Regions from separate parts of the Homo sapiens genome. Here region 2 is linked to region 1. The links are contacts of gene promoters, found by promoter capture Hi-C in human tissues and cell types (Jung and others, 2019). All regions are on one chromosome and are shown on one strand. Each heading gives the region's core, a stretch centred on a gene start or on the middle of the fragment in contact. The rest is flanking DNA. Distances are from core to core; before and after follow the strand shown. Region 1 holds the start of GCGR (glucagon receptor). Region 2 overlaps CCDC57 (coiled-coil domain containing 57).

What was found. Contacts are between HindIII fragments. The study calls those that stand out against the background at their distance.
Region 2: a contact is called between a fragment that was not itself captured here and the fragment with the promoter of GCGR in region 1, in 3 of the 25 tissues and cell types used here (dorsolateral prefrontal cortex, lymphoblastoid cells and spleen).

Annotation. Positions count from the first base shown.
Region 1 is chr17:81,800,497-81,805,399 of GRCh38, reverse strand. GCGR (glucagon receptor) reads right to left here and starts at 1,250. Exons shown (of 14, transcript NM_000160.5): 1 at 1,151-1,250. It overlaps LOC105376789 (a long non-coding RNA gene), which reads left to right and starts at 655. Exons shown (of 4, transcript XR_001753046.3): 1 at 655-742; 2 at 3,050-4,073; 3 at 4,385-4,440; 4 at 4,672-4,903. RefSeq lists an enhancer at 1,282-1,781. The HindIII fragment of the contact is 39,466 bases long and covers 1-3,196 here.
Region 2 is chr17:82,132,764-82,137,666 of GRCh38, reverse strand. CCDC57 (coiled-coil domain containing 57) reads left to right here. Exons shown (of 19, transcript NM_001394669.1): 16 at 3,473-3,594. Among named protein-coding and RNA genes, the nearest start is that of FASN, 37 kb to the right of the region's middle. The HindIII fragment of the contact is 3,997 bases long and covers 162-4,158 here.

The DNA.
Region 1 (4,903 bases), core at 1-2,500:
ACCAGGGCTTAGGGCCACCTGAGCTCCACTGCCCCGGCCGCTTTGCAGGGCTGGCACCCCGTGTCCTGTCCCATGTCCTCCCTGGCAGAACACGTGACTCTTGGGCGCTCCTGGCTGCGTCAGGCTCCACCGATTCCCACTGGGGGCGGCTGAGGGACCCGCAGACCTGGAGCTGGGCCCCCAGGATGGGTGGAGCGGCCACTGGTCCAGGAAGGCAGCGGGGCTCCCAGGGCGTCCGCAAGGGGCCTCTCAGACGCTTTGAGGAGCTCCGGGATGGGAGCCGGGATGTTTTTGTGAAACCAGAGAAGGTAGTGGAAGGTCAGGGCACCGGGGCGGGATCAGGGGCCACAGGCTGTTGACAAAGCCCTATCCCTGCGCCCTCACCCCGTGGGGGCGGGGCAGGCGTGGGTGCACCCAGACCCCCCAACCCTGATGTCCCCAATACCAAGGGCAGAGAGCAGCCCTGGCCGGTCCTTGGAGGATGCGGGCGCCGAGGGGGCCGGGGTCAGTCGGTTCAGAGTCGGAGCATAAGCCCGGTGGCCGAGTCGGCCGGGTGGTGGGGCGCCGGGGGGGCCGGAGCCGGGCAGGGCAGTGACCCGCTTGCCGGGGTCAAAGTCGCCAGTGTGGGCCGCGGAAGAGGAGCGGCCAGGCGGGGCGCAGACACCCCTCACCCCATCCTGGGCCGCGCCGGTGCCACCGGGCAGTCCTCGGGGCAGGAGCCCACCGAGGGGAGACAGCGCTGGTGAGACCCCGCGCCTCGGGGACGCGTCCGCGGCGCTTTGTGCGCTCCCCAGGGCGGCGGGGCCCGGGGCCCTGAGTGGGGAGTGTGGCCGCTGCAGTGTGGCCGCCGCAGGGCGCCAGGCGGCCAGCGACACCCCCGCCCCCAGCCGCGCCCCCCAGGACCAGAGAACGGGGGAGGGGCTGAGACCCCTGGACCTGCCCGACGGTGCAGGACCGGGTGGTGTCCGAGCCGGGGTTGGGAACGGGGGTGTCTGACGGGACTGAGGAGCGCACCAGCCCGGACCCCGGAGACCGCCCGGCCGGCTCCCCGCTCCCCGCGCCCCCGGCCCCGCCGCGCCCGCCCCGCGGTCTCTGTCCCCACCGGGTCGACTCCCCAACGTCCCCTCGGGGCCGCGGCCCAGGTGCTCACCGCGCGGCGCTGCTCGGGGGTCGGCTTGGCTCCCCGCCGTCCTCTGGGCGCGCTCGGGTCGGGCGCCGGTGACCGCTCGTCTTCGCGGCGCTGCCAGATCGGGGTCGGTGCAAACTTTCCGGCGGCGACGCAGGGCGAGGGCGGCGGCGGAGGGCGGGCTCGGGGGCGGCCCCGCGGGGGTGGGAGCGGCAGCCGAGGGTCCCCGCCCGCCCTCCGCGCAGCCTCCCGGCGAGCTTCGGTCCTGCCCACCCTGCGCAGGGAGCGCCTCGTACCCCGGCCATACGCAGACTCGGCGCGCTGAATTCCACCCCGCGGACCCGCGCCCCACAGACCTTTGTCCCACGGGTCCTGGTTCCGCAGACCCTAATCCTGCAGACCCCTGAGCCCGCGGACCCTGGCCCAGCAGGTGGTGGTCGCGGTGGGTCCCAGCTCCGGGAGGGGACGCCCTGGGACGCGGAGGGGCGCGCGGGCGTGGGGGCCGTGGCTCAGCCCCCCTTCCTCTCGCTCCCTCCGCCTCCCTGGGCGCCCCCTCGCCCCCTTCCTCTCGCGTCCCCGGGTTCTCGCCCCTTCTTTCCTGATGCCTGCCTGATTTTCTGGAAAGACCGACACCCCCAGTCGCCCCCACCGCGGCTCCCGGTTCCTTCCCCTGCAGAGCAGACGGGGGCTGGAGTAGGGGCCAACATGGGTGACATGGGTGGACCGGCAGGGCGGTCCCTGGGGTGCCCTTTAACTCTTTCTGTGCCACATCCCCGGTCTCTGGCCAGTCCTGTCGCGCTAAGGCCCCTCCAGCAGCGCTGACCCTGGTCCCCCACCTGCTGGTCCTGCGGCCGCGGGGCGCTCTCTCCTCCGTCCCACCCGCTCCTTCCACACCACCTCCTTTCCTGGGAGTGGAGAAGCCCCAGCCAGAACCCCTGCCTTCCCCAAGAGGCACGCTCAGAGGGACATTCTCCCCTTCCTCACTCCCCCTAGAGCCACATCACACCTGGCTTTGGGGCCCTAGAACCTCAGCCCGCGCCCCTCCCCTTCCACCCCCAGCCATCCCTGCTCTGTGCCCAGTGATCTTGGGGTCACCACAACCCCATGGCGCCTTGAGGCCTCACCTTTCCTGGCCTCTCAGCATCCTGGGACACTGATGGTCATGCCTTCCTTCTAGAAAGTTCTCTCCGAGGCTGTGGCTTCCAGGATGAGCACTCTCCTCCTCCCACTTCCTCCCCTTCTCCTTCCCCCTCCTCCCTTCTCCCTGGAGAGGTCTTCCTCCAAGTCCCAGTCTTCTTCCCCACCCAGAGCCCCTCCCGCTGACACTTGTCTGCAGTGCCTGTCTCCGCTCCCGCTAGGAAGCCTCCCCTCCGGCATCTCCAATCCATCTCTGGGTCCTGCTCCACCTGCATTTCCCTAGACCTGTCCTGGCCACCCTCACCCTGGGACACCTCCTGCCCGTGGAGAGCTCCTCTGATAGGTGCCGTCCTTGGTCTTGGGGGTCCTTTCTCCCTAATTCTACTTCTGTTTTGGGGGCGTGGGAACCCAGGGTCTTAACCCCAGCCATTCCCCCTCCCAGGGGCCACTTCCCTCTGAAGCTTAGCCCAGCTCTGTGACCCCCACAGGCCTGCCCCCACCTGGTCCTCACTCCCCTGCATAGCCACACTGTGGGGGCTCCATGCTTCCCAGCCCATAGGAAGCCCTGTTCCCAGAGGGGGCCATTCTGTTTTAGTTGGAGCAGTGGCCAGAGGCAAAGGTCAGAAGGCAAAGGTCATAAAAGTTTGTCTCTACCTGCCAGCATCTGCTCCTGCTACTGCATCTTCTCCCCTCTCCACCCAAACCCTCCCTCAGCTCCTGCCCCCACCTCTCCAGAGGCACAGACAACAGGGTTCTGATCTTGGGTCATGGTGCTCCCCCTGCCAGCCTCAGTCCGAGACCTCTGTGAATGGCGGTGATGGCTAATGGGATGAGGGGGACCACCTCCTGGTGGCTGCAGGGACTGGGGTGAGGGTGCTGTAGGCTCTGCCTAAGTCAAGTGCCATGGGGCTGAAGAGACGGCGCACCGGCCCTGGAGAAGAGTCCTCCCTGCCCTCCTGTGTCTGGCCTTGTTTCCTGGAGGACAGGTCCCCACGGGGCAGAGGCCCAGCAGTCCCAGGTAAGCGCTGGGTGGCCGGAGTCTGGTACCTGCAGGAAGAGAAGTAGAAGAATAAATTTGGAGTGTGTGAAGGGGGCAAAGCCTGAAAGGTTCGGACTCAGTGTGGGGAGGGAGAGGGAACAGATGGGGTGGGGCACCTCCCCTGGGCTGGGTGACCCTTATTTATATGACTGAATCCATGACAAGATTGTTTGCTTGACCAAACTGTAGTCCGGCTTCAGAACCTTCTCACAGGCTCATCTGCATTCTGCCTTATAAAATCCAGATTCAGCAAGAACTCTGCTAAGTCAGTTTGGCAAGAAGCCTCCATCCCCCCATATCTGATCAGGGTCCTCAGCCTCCGCCACCCCCAGGCGATGTCTGCTTACCTTGCCTGCCTTCAGCAAGCTTCCTTTTACCTGGGTAGGGTCCTCAGCTTCCACCACCCCCAGGCGACGTCTGCTCACCCTGGCTGCCCGCAGCAAGATTCCTGTTATCTGGGTAGAGTCCTCAGCCTCCGCCACCCCCAGGCGATGTCTGCTCACCTTGCCTGCCTTAAGCAAGATTCCTGTTACCTGGGTAGAGTCCTCAGCCTCTGCTACCCACAGGCAATGTCTGCTCACCCTGCCTGCCTTCAGCAGGCTTCCTTTTACCTGGGTAGGGTCCTCAGTTTCCGCCACCCCCAGGCAATATCTGCTCACCCTGGCTGCCTTCAGCAAGCTTCATTTTACCTTGGTAGGTTCCTTAGCCTCTGCCACCTCCAGGCCGTGTCTGCTAACCCTGTCTGCCGTCAGCAAGCTTCGTTTTACCTGGGTAGGTTCCTTAGCCTCTGCCACCTCCAGGCCGTGTCTGCTAACCCTGTCTGCCGTCAGCAAGCTTCATTTTACCTGGGTAGGGTTCTCAGCCTCCGCCACCCCCAGGCGATGTCTGCTAACCCTGCCTGCCCTCAGCAAGCTTCCTGTTTCCTGGGTTTAGCCAGAATCCTCCAGACAGGTGTTTCGTGCCAGTAATTTTCCACCCACTGACCCCGCCCTGCTCCTCAGATCTAAATCCCCACTTGCCTGTGCCACATTGAGAGTTGAGCCCAGGTCTATACTAAAATCTTTTTTCCCCTATTACAATAGTCCCGAACAAAATATGTGTTTCAACTGCTATCCAGTTCTGGTTTCCCTTGACATTGGTGAGACATATAAACAGAGGGCAGCTGGGAATGGAGGGGGCAGGGCCTTCCCAAGCAGCAGTGGGGGTGGGGGGACCTGCCCTCCATCCAGTCCCCAGGGTCCTACTCATTGCAGGGGGCCCTCCTGGAGGTGTGCTTGGTCCTGGGGCGGGCTGCAGCGGGGCTGGGGGCAGGTCTGCACCCCCCACCCCTGAGATGTGGGTTTGTCTATCTGTGCTGGGGATTCTGGAGACGGCACCTGCAGAACTTAATTTCGGTGTCCAGCAAGACTTATGGAGCCCATACTGCCAGCGAGACTCAGAAGCCCCACCCTGGAGTTCTGCAAGGGGCTGATGAGGAGGAGGGATGAAAGCGACAGCCGGAAGCCAAGGCGGAGGGACCAGGGGTGGGAGGGGAGGCTGCATCTGGGCCCAGAAAAACGTGGAAATGCAGGAAGGGAAACAGGAGGGTGGTGGGGCTGCCC
Region 2 (4,903 bases), core at 911-3,410, 330 kb before region 1:
GAAAGCTTTATTTTATTTGACATTTAGAATTCAATTTTGAGAAGGAAAAAAAAATGTCAGGAGATTTGAACATTAAGACTCATGGGTACCTGAGAAATAATATTTAGCTACCCACGTGAAAGTGACAAAAAGCTTAAACATAGGAGAGAACAGTTATAGAGAAACTTAGCTCTTTCATAAGCATGGGAAGCTTTGTTTTCTGAAACCATCAAGACATAATAAGTCAACAAAAGCACGGAAAATTACCCTGGTAAGACAGCACCTTTGCTGTCTGAACAGATTACATAGAAAGTAAAGAATAACCCTTCATAGTTTAGGGGAAGTCAATAAATAGTAAACGAAGGAAGGCTGGGTGCAGTGGCTCACGCCGGTAATCCCAGCACTTCGGGAGGCCGAGGTGGGCGGATCATAGGATGCTTGCAGGAGTTCAAGACCAGCCTGGCCAACACGGTGAAACCCCTTGTCTACTAAAAATACAAAAATTAGCCGGGCATGGTGGCAGGTGCCTGTAATCCAAGCTACTGAAGAGGCTGAGGCGGGAGAATTGCTTGAACCTGGGAAGTGGAGGTTGCAGTGAGCCAACATCACACCACTGCACTCCATCCAGCCTGGATGACAGAGCAAGACTCTGTCTCAAAAAAAAAAAAAAAAAAGTAGTACACCAAGGAAACAAACCCATCAAAATTGGGCTAACTTTGCTAAGATTTTAACACATTTCATGGCTTTTTAAAAAACTAGCTTTCTTTCAACCAAGTAAGGATTGAGAAAACAAGACCTAGCTTTCAGCTGGGTGCAGTGGCTCATGCCTCTAATCCCAGCCCTTTGGGAGGCCAAGGGAGGAGGATCACTTGAGGCTAGGAGTTTGAGACTAACCTGGGCAGAATAGTGACACCCTGTCTCTACTAAAAAACAAAAAACTTGGCTGGGTGTGGTCCCAGCTACTTGGGAGGCTGAGGTGGGAGGATCGCTTGAGCCCAGGAGGTGGAGGCTGCAGTGAGCCGCGATTGCACCACTGCACTCCAGCCTGGGTGACAGAGCAAGACTCTGTCTCAAAAAAACTAGTTTTCTTTTTTTTTTTTTTTTTTTGGTACTATACATATAAAATGTACTGTTGAAAGCTCATGAAGTATACAAAGTATACAGTTCAGTGCATTAAGCACGTCAAGAATGTTGTGCGAGCATCATCATTTGTTCCAGAATTCCTTTCACTTCAGAGGAAACCCCACACTCATTCGCAGTTGCTTCCTGTCCCCCGCCCAGCACCCACATTCTGCCTCCATGCCTTTGCCTGTTCTGGACGTTTCACTTCAGCAGGATCCCACAGGATGTGTCCCTTTGTGCCTGGCTTCTTTCCCTCTGTGTCCTGTTTGAGGGTCCCTCGTGCTGGGGCGTCTGCACTTAATTCCTTTCCATGGGAAGAGCTCTTTGCTGGGGGACAGGCCACTGTAGGCATTTGTCCATCAGTTTGATGGACATTTGGATGGTTTCCGCCTTTGGGCTATTGTGAATAATATTGCTGTGAACATTCAGTTCTCTTGGATGCCTCCCTAGAAGTGGCCTTGCTGGGTCATGTGGGAATTCTGTGTCTAACCTGGTAAGGAGCCACCAAACCGCCTCCCATGCCCACCAGCTGCGCACGAAGGTTCTGATTTCTCCACATCTGCACCAGCACTTGCTATTTTCTGTCGGGGTTTTTTTTAATTAAGAATACTTTTATTGCATATCTTTAAAAACTTTATTTTTTTTATATTTAAAAAAATTTCTTTTAAAAATAGAGGTGGGATCTCACTGTGTTGCCCACGCCAGTATCCAACACCTGACATCAAGGATCCCCCCCACCCGGCCTCCCAGTGTGCTGGGGTTACAGGTGTGAGCCACCGCACCCAGCTGTTTTCTATCCTGTTGATCCCAGCCAACCTAGTGGGTGTGAGGCGGGATCCCATAGTGGGCTTGATTTTACATTCTCCTGGTGACCAATGGTGTTGAGTGTCTTCAGGAGGTTTTTGCCCACACGTGCATCTTCTGACTTCATGGCTTTTAAATTCAGGTGTTTATAAACCAAGGGAAACACGTTCATTTCCAAGTGTCATCTTTGGGTTCTTTTATTGCGTAGAAGAAACTGATGCTTTACTTGAGGGCCCATCTCGGGATGTCCACAGGGCAGAGCTAATCCTGCGATGCTCCTCAGATGTTGATCATAAGCAATATGTTCATCATGGCTAACTTCAAGTTAATTGATAAAAAAGCTTTAAAATTTTTCTGTTTTGACCAGGCACATGGCTCACACCTGTATTCCCAGCACTTTGGGAGGCCAAGGCGGGCAGATCACCTGAGGTCGGGAATTCGAGACCAGCCTGACCAACATGGAGAAACCCCGTCTCTACTAAAAATACAAAATTAGCCGGGCGTGGTGGCGCATGCCTGTAATCCCAGCTACTTGGGAGGCTGAGGCAGGAGAATTGCTTGAACCCAGGAGGTGGATGTTCTGGGGGTGTCGAGATCGCGCCACTGCACTCCAGCCTGGGGGACAAGAGCGAAACTCCATCTCAAAAAAAAAAATGTCTGTTTCAATTTCCAATATGTGAAATGTCAACAGTTATAAACACCCTCCAAAAACCTTGTTGGAATCCTCAGTGAGTTTAACGAAACTGATTTGTAATCCTGGGAAATGTTATTTCAGTAATTATGTCTTCTGATGTGTCTGCTTAGAGAAGGAGCAGATCTTTACATAACATAACATGAATGGAATTGATGAAAGGATCTCGTTTGATGTGGGGTCATTTCTAAGTAAGCTAGCATGCCGAAGCTTTGAGTAGAACCATCATTTTTAAGTTGTTATACTTAAGCTTTTGCTTCTTTTGTTTGTTTGTTTGCTTGCTTTTTGAGATGGAGTTACCCAGGATGGAGTGCAGTGGCATGATCTCGGCTCGCTGCAACCTCTGCCTCCCGGGTTCAAGCAATTCTTCTGCCTCAGCCTCCCGAGTAGCTGGGATTACAGGTGCCCACCACCACGCCCAGCTAATTTTTGTATTTTTAGTAGAGACGGAGTTTCACCATGTTGGCCAGGCTGATCTCGAACTCCTGGCCTCAAGTGAGCAACCTGCCTCAGCCTCCCAAAGTGCTGGGATTACAGACGTGAGCCTCCGCACCTGGCAAGTTTTTGCTTCTTCTTTGTGCCTGCCACAGAAAGGGCGTCTGGGTGCTTCTGTTAGCGAATGTGCTTGCTGCCCCCGCTGTGAGGACAGCAAGGGCTGTGTGTGGCAGGGGCGTGGCATTGTGTGTGCAAGAGCTCTACCGAAATGCTGTGTGTCACAGTTCACTGTTGTCCGGCCCTCCCCAAGTTCTCGATGTAATGGAAGTTACTTTGGTTTTGAAAAGGAACATGCTGTTCTTTCTGAGTGTTTGCATTCAACACAAGAGGAATCCAGAAGTGATGCACAGAGAACAAACTCTGTCCCCATCCCATTCCCAGGGTGGCTGTTGCACCACGCCCTCCCTCCTGCCCCTGAGGCCCGGAAGCCAGGCGAGGAGCCCAGGAGGCCTTTGGATCGCAGCCCACCTTTGGGACAGGTGCAGCCCCATTTTACATCTCAGGTAACACCCCTTCATCTAAGACATGCATTTTTAAAAATATTTCCCTAATTGTGTCGTTTTCATTACAGAAACTTCAGATTACAATAAACACAATATAAAAAGCCTCCAATTTTCAGGATCCAGATATAGTTATTAGTAACATTTCAATGTGTTTTCTGCTGGGTTTTTGTTTTGTTTTGGTTTGGTTTTGGTTCTCATTTGTTTGTTTGTTTTTTGAGACAGTCTTGCTCTGTTGCCCAGGCTTGAGTGCAGTGGTGCAATCTCGGCTCACTACAACCTCCCCCTCCCGGTTCAAGCAATTCTCCTGAGTCAGCCTTCCGAGTTGCTGGGATTACAGGCATGCACCAACACGCCTGACTAATTTTTGTATTTTTAGTAGAGATGGGGTTTTACCATATTGGCCAGGCTGGTTTCAAACTCCTGACCTCAGGTGATCCACCCGCCTCTGCCTCCCAAAGTGCTGGGATTACAGGCATGAACCACCGCGCCCAGCCCCCATTTTTTTTTATTTTTTCATTACAAATTGTATCATGTATATGTTTTACTATAGCTTTACATATCTGGGTACTATTTTTTTAATCTGGTATGATAAGTGAAAAAAAAACCAAAAACTTCTATTTTTTTTTTTTTTTTTTTTTTTTGAGACAGGGCCTGGCTCTGTCACCCAGAACCCAAAAACTTCTTTTTTTTTTGTCCTTTGAGACAGGGCCTGGCTCTGTCACCCAGGCTGGAGTGCAGTGGTGCAATCACAGCTCACTGCAGCCTCGGCTTCCTAGGCTCAAGTGATCCTCCCACCTCAGCCTTCCAAGTAGCTGGGACCACAGGTGTGTACCACCATGCCTAATGGCTAATTTTTATATTTTTTGTTTAAATGGAGTTTTGCCATGTTGCCCAGGCTGGTCTTGAACTCCTGGGCTCAAGCGATCTGCCCACCATGGCCTCTCAAAGTACTGGGATTATGGGCATGAGTCAGTGCACCCAGCCACAACTTGTATCTTTAAAAAGATAGCAAGATGGCCAGGTGCGGTGGCTCACGCCTATAATCCCAGCACTTTGGGAGGCCGAGGCGGGTGGATCATGAGGTCAAAAGTTTGAGACCAGCCTGACCAACATGGTGAAACCCCGTCTCTACTAAAAATACAAAAATTAGCCGGGCATGGTGGCACTCGCCTGTAATCCCAGCTGCTGGGGAGGCTGAGGCAGGAGAATTGCTTGAACCCAGGAGGCAGAGGCTGCAGTGAGCCGAGATGGCACCACTACACTCCAGCCTGGGCGACAGAGCAAGACTCCGTCTCAAAAAAAAAAAAAA